2 separate regions of the Homo sapiens genome follow, and region 2 is linked to region 1. Evidence: promoter capture Hi-C in 16 types of primary human blood cells and fetal thymus (Javierre and others, 2016). All regions are on one chromosome and are shown on one strand. The core of a region is centred on a gene start or on the middle of the fragment in contact, and the rest is flanking DNA. Distances in the headings are between cores, read along the strand shown.

What was found. The method cuts DNA at HindIII sites, captures the fragments that hold promoters and counts their contacts. A CHiCAGO score of 5 or more calls a contact.
Region 2: a fragment that was not itself captured here is called in contact with the fragment with the promoter of NXNL2 in region 1 in 1 of 17 cell types (megakaryocytes); the score reaches 5.0 in megakaryocytes.

What each region holds. Positions count from the first base shown.
Region 1 is chr9:88,533,006-88,537,134 of GRCh38, reverse strand. NXNL2 (nucleoredoxin like 2) reads right to left here and starts at 1,957. Exons shown (of 2, transcript NM_001161625.2): 1 at 1,399-1,957. The coding sequence starts at 1,700. It overlaps LOC105376134 (a long non-coding RNA gene), which reads left to right and starts at 2,595. Exons shown (of 2, transcript XR_007061653.1): 1 at 2,595-3,121. RefSeq lists enhancers at 503-1,336, 1,337-2,171. The HindIII fragment of the contact is 6,313 bases long and covers 152-4,129 here.
Region 2 is chr9:88,305,978-88,310,106 of GRCh38, reverse strand. No RefSeq gene overlaps it. Among named protein-coding and RNA genes, the nearest start is that of SPIN1, 80 kb to the left of the region's middle. The HindIII fragment of the contact is 3,110 bases long and covers 789-3,898 here.

The DNA.
Region 1 (4,129 bases), core at 708-3,207:
CCACGTGATGTATCATATGCTCAGCAATAAAATACCTTGCCTGCCATCACCTGGCAAGTAAATCCCAGAGCTGGGCCAGAGCTTTGTGCCTAATTACTATAATGATACTGCCATCGTCTCTCGCTTTCAAACCTGCGTTCTTTCAAAAGCTTACAAATAACTTGAGTACTAAACAAGTCCAATCCTGTTTTTAAAAGCACCACTTGAACTGATTCTGTAAGAAATCCTTTTGCAAAGTGAACCACCCATCTTGGAGATTCATTATCAATAGAACTTTCAGAGTCCCGGTGTGAGTGAGGCTCCCAGAAGCAGGTTACCCCCCTGGAAGGCTGGGCGGTGCCCTGCCTGGGCCTCCTCTTTCACTGGGAATCACCAAAAATCATGTTTGGGGGAATAATTAGATTTCTTCCCATTAATTACTCATCTACAAAACTTTCCAAAGTTAGCTTCCAGTTTTCATTTTCCAGAAGGAATGTCATCTCATGATAATCAGTTTAGGGGGTAATGCCACAACTTAATGATAATCTCCAGAAATGTGAGGCTGTAAAGCAAAACCCAGAAATTCACATTGGTACCTAGAAGGGGGTGGCCAGGACAACATACTTGACGAGGCCTGCTTTAAACCTAAGTCTGGACTCTTACACCATAGGAGACCACAGGAGACCCACCCCAAAAGCAGAACAATCAATCCCTGTAATCCCCTCTCTGCCAATCCCTACCCCCTCCTTTGCAACAGTTAGAGTAATAAAGTTTATAGTAATGAGTTTTATGCTTCTCTAGTGATGAAATTCCATCAGTGTCGGTAAAAATGAAACCGCAAAGGTGGCCAGCACCTGGGTTCCTGCCAGCCTTGAAGCCCCCGTCCCTCCCTCCCAGCAAACCAACCACGGCCTGCACTGTGGGTGCCTGTCACAGAGCTGATGTCCTCGCGGGTCATCCCTCATCCCCGCATCCAGACACCGGGTCATGTCCCTGTGCTTCCTGCCCACTAACTGGGAGGATGACGCAGCGGCGCCGGGAGTCCAGGGCTGATTGGGCCGGCGGTTCCCGGAGCCGAGCCCGCGAACTCACAGCATCACCACCACTGGGAGCTCCTTCGCAATGCAGATTCCCGGAGCTCCAGACCCCAGGCAGAAACGCGCCCGCGTCCATGCTCCACGAGCCCCCTTGGGGTGCCGATGCCCTGGGTTTTCGAATCTGGTCTGCACCCTCCCTGGTCTCCAAGAGAGGTTGAAACTGAGACTGAGTGTGATTTACCGGAGTCCGGACGTGAACCGAGAGACGGGGAGGTGTTGGGGGGGGGCGTCATAAAGAGCTCCCCAGTGCAGAGGGGGAGGCCTGGGGGAACATGGGGGAGACGTGCCGGGCGGCCCCCGCCCCCCCAGGACCCCCACTCACTGCCGGTAGGGGTCGTGGAAGGGCAGCGCCAGCCAGGCGCCATGCAGCTCGCGCATGAAGTCCAGCATCTCCTGGGAGCTGCCGTCGGCTGACACGAAGACCACTTCGAAGGGCGCGGGCCGCCGCGCCTCGGCCACCAGCGCCGTATAGAAGTCGCAGAGCAGCGGCGTGAAGTCGCGGCTCGGCGCGCACCGGGCCGCCGCGAAGTACAGTGCCACCACCTTGTTCTGCAGCGCCGCCTCGGCCTCCACCGTCGCGCCCTTACAGGTCACCAGGTGCCGCTCGCCCAGAATGTCAACCATGGCGCAGACACGCAGCCACCTGAGACCCGAGGACACCTGCAGGAGGATGATCACCTGCGGGGAGGCGGCGGCGAGCGCCGCGGTGCCCCGCCTCTGTCCGCACCACCGGGCGCTGGACCTCTCAAGACCTGCCCCAGATGCGCCCACACCTTGGCCAGGCCTCGCCTGTGGCTGGAGCAATTGTGTTCGCGCCGACAATGAGACACTCAGACACCAGAGACCCCAGATACCTGGGCGACAGCGCGGCACCCGCCTCTGGGAGCGGGGCCAGCCAGGCAACCTCAAGCCCTCAGGTCTCTGCACCCTCCCCCAACTGCGCCCCGCCCACACTCCTGCGCCCTCCCACCACTGCGCCCCGCCCACATTCCCCGCAAGCTCCCCAACTGCGCCCCGCCCACATTCCGCACTCTCCACCCACTGCGCCCCGCCCACATCCCGCACTCTCCACCCACTGCGCCCCGCCCACATCCCCGCCCCCGCCCCCACTGCGCCTCGCCCGCATCCCCACACTGTCCCCCACTGCGCTGGGCCCACATCCCTACACTCTCCACCCACTGCGCCCCGCCCACATCTCCGCACCCTCCCCCACCGCACCCCGCCCACATCCCCGCACTCTCCTCCAACTGCGCCTCGCCCACATTCCACAGTTTCCCCTCACTGCGCCCCGCCCACATCCCCGCACTCTTCTCCAACTGCGCCTCGCCCACATTCCACAGTTTCCCCTCACTGCGCCCCGCGCACACTCCCGCTCCCTCCCCCACTGCGCCCCGCCCACACTCCCGCGCCCTCCCCCTCACTGCGGCCCGCCGACATCCCGCGCCCCCGCCCCCATCCCGACTGCGCCCCGCCCACCTCCCGCGCCCTCTCCCACTGGTTGTCCAGCCCACATCCTGCACTCCCTCCACTGCGCCCCGCTCACACTCCCGCACCCTCCCCACACTGCGCCCTGCCCACACTCCTGCACTCTCTCCCCACTACGCCCCCTACCACATCCCGCGCCCCCGCCCCCATCCCCACTGCGCCCCGCCCACACTCCCGCGCCCTCGCGCCCCTGGGCTCTCCCGTCGTGGGCACTCTCCCCAGCGCTTCTACACTTTCTCCCGACGCAGCGCCCTGCCCTCCGTCCCGCCCCACCTATTGCCTCCTGCGCTTCCCCCACACCGTGCTCTTCCTCCTCCTTCACTTCCTCCCACTCCTCGCGCTCCCCTTCAGCGCCCCACGCAGCCCCTCCCCCAAAACCCCGCGTCGCTCTCCTTCCCTCCTGGCCTCTCTTCCAGTCTCGCGCTCCCTGCCGGGCCCCGCCGCAGGTGTCCCGCAGCCGTCTCCCCAGGGCATTTGAATCTTGCCTTGGAGCTCTTGCCGCGCGGCCCAGCACCCTGGAAGAGGCATCAGGGAGGATGGGACGACGAGGAAGGGGAAGGGTAATTGGGCTTGGAGCGGGCTTGGGCGGGGTGGTAGGGAACCTGAGCTCCGTTGGTTCAGGGTGTTTGCCCCTGACATCCTGTGGCCTGGCTGGGAGGGTTCGTGAAGTTCAGGAAGAAATTGGGAGCAGTCCTTACAGAATGTTTTATTTGAAGAACCAAGAGTATTAATTTTTTGGCGAGCACTGTTGTAGGCCCTGGGAATTCAGCAGTGAGAAAAATAATTTCAACTCCCTGCCAGACCCGGGCTAGAAGGAGGCAAGCGAGCGAGGCACTCGCATAGGGGCAAAATTTAAGGGCGCGACAAAAAAACTCAGTAGTCAAGGTAAATAATGTTTTAATACAATATCTTAAAAAGTCAAAATGAATGCAAAAAAAGTTTATAATGAACAAAATATCAAAAACTTAAAGACAGTGAATGAAACCAAAATATGCCATCCTAAAATATGCCGCTTTGGTATATTGATTATTTTGAGCGAGAGGCACTTGAAAAATAGCAAATGCAGAGAGACGTTCTCCCCTTACCTGTCTAAAGACGGAACCTCCAAAAGAAACTGATTGTCGTAAATTCCCTCCCGGGAGGATGGACTCTTATCACAGCAGAAGTCCACACCACACCTAGACAAACTTTGTCACAAACTCATAAAGACTTATGCATCTTTCCTAAAAATCAGTTACTCTCCCCTAAGTGGCCTACACCAGCTTCCAGTTCCCCAATTTTAGAAGCTCTCAAAGCTCACTGGTTTGGGGGGTTTTCACCTAGTTTCCTGCAATGCCCCCATGCAGGTGATATTAAAGATTAATAAATGTGTATTCCCGTTCCCCCCGTTCATCTGCCCGTTGGCAGTTAATTTCATAGAGCCAGCTATGGAACTGGGGAGGACAGAGAGAAGGTCTTTGCTCTCCTAAGACAAGATGGATCCCCCACTGACTTTGGACTCCCGTCACGTTCACCGACCCCTGAGTCCTGCTCCTGTGCCTGCCTGGAGCTTATGTTCTAACGGGCAC
Region 2 (4,129 bases), core at 1,094-3,593, 230 kb after region 1:
CCATCTCTACGAAAAATACAAAAACTAGCTAGGTGTGGTGGCAAATGCCTGTAATCCCAGCTACTCGGAAGGCAAGAGAATCGCTTGAACCCAGGAGGTGGTGGTTGCAGTGAGCTGAGATCACACCACTGCACTCCAGCCTGGGTGACAGAGTGAGACTCCATCTCAAAACCCCGTCTCTACTACAAATACAAAAAAAAAAAAAAAAAATAGCTGGGCACGGTGGTGCATGCCTGTAATCCCAGCTACTTGGGAGGCTCAGGCAGGAGAATCACTCGAATCCAAGAGACGGAAGTTACAGTGAGCCAAGACAGCGCCACTGCACACCAGCCTGGGCAAGAGAGTGAGATTCTGTGTTTGAGGGATCTGAGCAATTTGATAGTTGTGAGTATTTCTGAGTATCGCCCATGCTGATGGACACATCAGCTGTATTTCAACGTGCTTTGCATGTGATGTCTTATCAGTAAAAGCCTAGCACTAGATATTAAGCAATCTGTGTGAGTCTATTGTAATTAGGCCCCCTCTTGTTTGAAAAATAAAATACACAGTGAGAATCACTACATTAGATTTTGAATGCTATGAATTTAAGTGTGAATATCCTGGTTGTTTTTTGGCTCACCACTGAAGTTATTCAAATGTGATAAGGAAATTGGTTCCCAAAGTGGGAAAGGATCAAAACCATGGAAATGAAAGACGTAATGAGAAACACAGGTGTATTGCTTGGAGACCGCCTAACACAGTTTAGTTGCCAGCCTAACGGGCTAAATTTAGAAGGCAGGAACAAAGCTTGTTTCTTCTCTTGATTTGTGGGATAAAATGGGTCACTGGGCATGAAATAATCAAAATTGCAAGTGGACCAGAACGGCTTCTATGTTATTTGGAGCTTGCCTCCAGGCCTGGGGCCTCCCCTCATGGACCTCAGTTTCCTTATCTAGTTTTTTTAAATTGCGGAGTGTTCCAGCATTGTTCAAGCCTAAGAATGCTCAGAAACCAGAGAACCTCTTTCTTCATGGGAAATTTTTCTTCTCAGAAGTAACCAAAACAGATGAAAACCACGGCTATTCTGGTTGGAAGGTGGTGGGGACAGGCATTTTCCCTCAGCTTTTCATCCTGTGTGGTCCTGAGTACTGGAAGAACCTCTAGTTCCTAAAAAAGCACCATCTGAAAATCCTGGGATGATGTAAGGAGAATTGGCTTTTCCATATCCTCCAAGCTGCATGTTGTTCTGCTTTCTGTTGCTCATGGCAGACCACCCAAAACCGAGTGCCAGGTTTTGGTCAGGAGGCGGGAGCAGGAGTGAGGGGGAAGCTGAGGCCAGAGCTTTTACCGGGGCTTCCATGAGAATGGCAGAGCAGAGGAGGGGAAACAGTTTAGGATGGGCTAGTTCAAATGATTCCAGTAGGCTTTGGGCTTTAGGGGTGGTCTCTAGTTGCCTGGTACCTAGCTCTGGGATGATTCAGGACAGGGGAAAATATTGGCTTGGTGTGTGAGAGTAAGATAAACGGGGTGGCTGGGGTATAGACTTGGAATTGATTGGTTTGCATAGGAAAGACAGGGTCTCAACACAAAGCCCTTGGCTAGCTCTAAGAATGGCTTAACCCCTGGAGGGGCAGTCTCTCCCTGGCCAGCCAGGTTTTTAAGATGTCAAAACATTATAAAAGACCTGGGCATGGTGGCACGTGCCTTGAATCCTAGATGGAAGGATTGCTTGAGGCCAGGAGTTCCAGACCTACCTGGACAACATAGCAAGACCTCATCTCTAAAAAAATAATTATAAGATACAGAAGACAAAAAATGTGACTAATACATAGGAGAACCTGGAGGAAGCCTCATCCAGGCTTTTATGACCCAGCTTTGGAACTCACAATGTCTGTCTCAGCCTGCTGTTTTGGTTGGAGCTAGCCTAAACCCACCCAGATCCGTAGCTGGGTGCCCAGCTATCCCAGTTTGCCAGGGAGTCTTTGCTGTTTTTTTGTTTTGTTTTGTTTGTTGTTGTTTAGACTGAGTTTTGCTCTTGTTGCCCAGGCTGGAGTGCAATGGTGCCATCTCAGGTCACTGCAACCTCTGCCTCCCAGGTTCAAGTGATTCTCCTGTCTCAGCCTCCCAAGTAGCTGGTATTACAGGCATGTGCTACCACACCTGGCTAATTTTTTGTATTGCTTTTTTTTGTGTTTGTTTTTTTGAGACGGAGTCTCGCTCTGTCGCCCAGGCTGGAGTGCAATGGCACGATCTCCACTCACTGCAAACTCCGCCTCCCAGGTTCGTGCCATTCTCCTGAGTAGCTGGGACCACAGGTGCCCGCCACCACGCCTGGCTAATTTTTTGTGTTTTTAGTAGAGACAGGGTTTCACCATGTTAGCCAGGATGGTCTCGATCTCCTGACCTCGTGATCTGCCTGCCTTGGCCTCCCAAAGTGCTAGGATTACAGGCGTGAGCCACCATGCCCGGCCGATTTTTTGTATTTCTAGTAGAGACAGGGTTTCACTATATTGGTCAGGCTGGTCTCAAACTCCTGACCTCAAGTGATTCACCCGCCTTGGCCTCCCAAAGTGCTGGGATTACAGGCGTGAGCCACCGTGCCCAGCCCTTTGCTAGTTTTGGGGACTTTCCTTGCTAGTACTGAGAATACCCTGGGCAAAAAGGGACAATTCAAGGGGAGGAGACCTAGACCTCACCTCTCGGGGAAGAAGCGGCCAGGTCACGTTGTAGGAGTACACACGCGATGGGAGATATTTCTGTAGCTATCTTTGGAAAACACAGCCTGCTATAATGCATCAGGAAGGGAAAGTGTCAACACAGACAGGAGCCAGGGCCTGGAGACTTGCCTGGTTCCCAGGAAGGGCACTGGTTACAAAAAGAGAAAGAAAAAGTTGCCAGAGATACAAGTAGAAGCGAATGCCCCAACAAGATCAGATGGCCATGTAAAAAAGCATTCCAATTCACAGTAAAGTTAGTGCACCTATGCATTTACAGATTCAATCTTTTTTTTTTTTTTTTTTTTTTTTGAGATGGAGTTTCACTCTTGTTGCCCAGGCTGGAGTGCAGTGGCATGATCTCGGCTCACTGCAACCTCTGCCTCTCGGGTTCAAGCGATTCTCCTGCCTCAGCCTCCTGAGTAGCTGGGATTACAGGTGCCCGCCACCATGCCTGGATAATTTTTCGTATTTTTAGTAGAGACAGGGTTTCATCATGTTGGCCAGACTGGTCTTGAACTCCTGACCTCAGGTGATCCGCCCGCCTTGGCCTCCCAAAGTGCTGGGATTACAGGTCTGAGCCACCACCCCCGGCCCAGATTCAATCTTTATTACATATACATTTAGAGTCAAATAGCTTATGACAATAATACAGACATTAAGGCGGTTTCAAGGATTTCACAACCAAGTTTTGCAGTTTATTTCAGTGGCACCTATTAATTACACATCACATCTAAACGTTGTCAGAGATTGGTTATATTTGGCTATATCTGGAAAAGTTCCTCAAGGCAGGAAAAAAAGGCTTTTAAGATATTCCCCTCAGAAATAAGACTTTGTAGCCCCCAAATATGGATTTGCCTTTTCATTCTGAAAGGTGATGAAAGGGGTTGGAGGGGTTGGGTCCAGATGAGCCTGGAGCAGCCCCTGTGTCCTGGGCATCACCACCCTTCCACCACACGGGGACTAGGCGGCAAGAAGAGGGGGTCACAGGAGGCTGAGCACGCACGCAGGATTCTGGGGTGAGCAGCAGGCAGACTCTTCACTGAGAGGGGCTCTCTAGTAATAGATTGCCAAAATGCTTCACACCTGAAGCAATGGTCCTCAAACACTGATGGAAGAAAGAGTCACATTTAGCATAGCAAGAAGGAGAAGAAATATGTCAGAATACACACCTGGAAATGTACAGGAGTACCCAGAGAAAAGCTTCAAATGAACAAAGGAACAGACAGGGAACTTGAGTAGATAAAGAGACATGTTCAGTCCTGAGAGAGGAAGACAGCATTACAAGGATGCCCCTCTCTCTAAGGTAATGTAAAAATTTAAGATGAGGCCGAAAAACAAAAACAAAAGCTTGAATTTTCCCTTTAGCTTAGTGATTTTGGGGGCCCAAGATATTTTCCTGGCTGGGTGCAGTGGCTCACGCCTATAATCCCAAC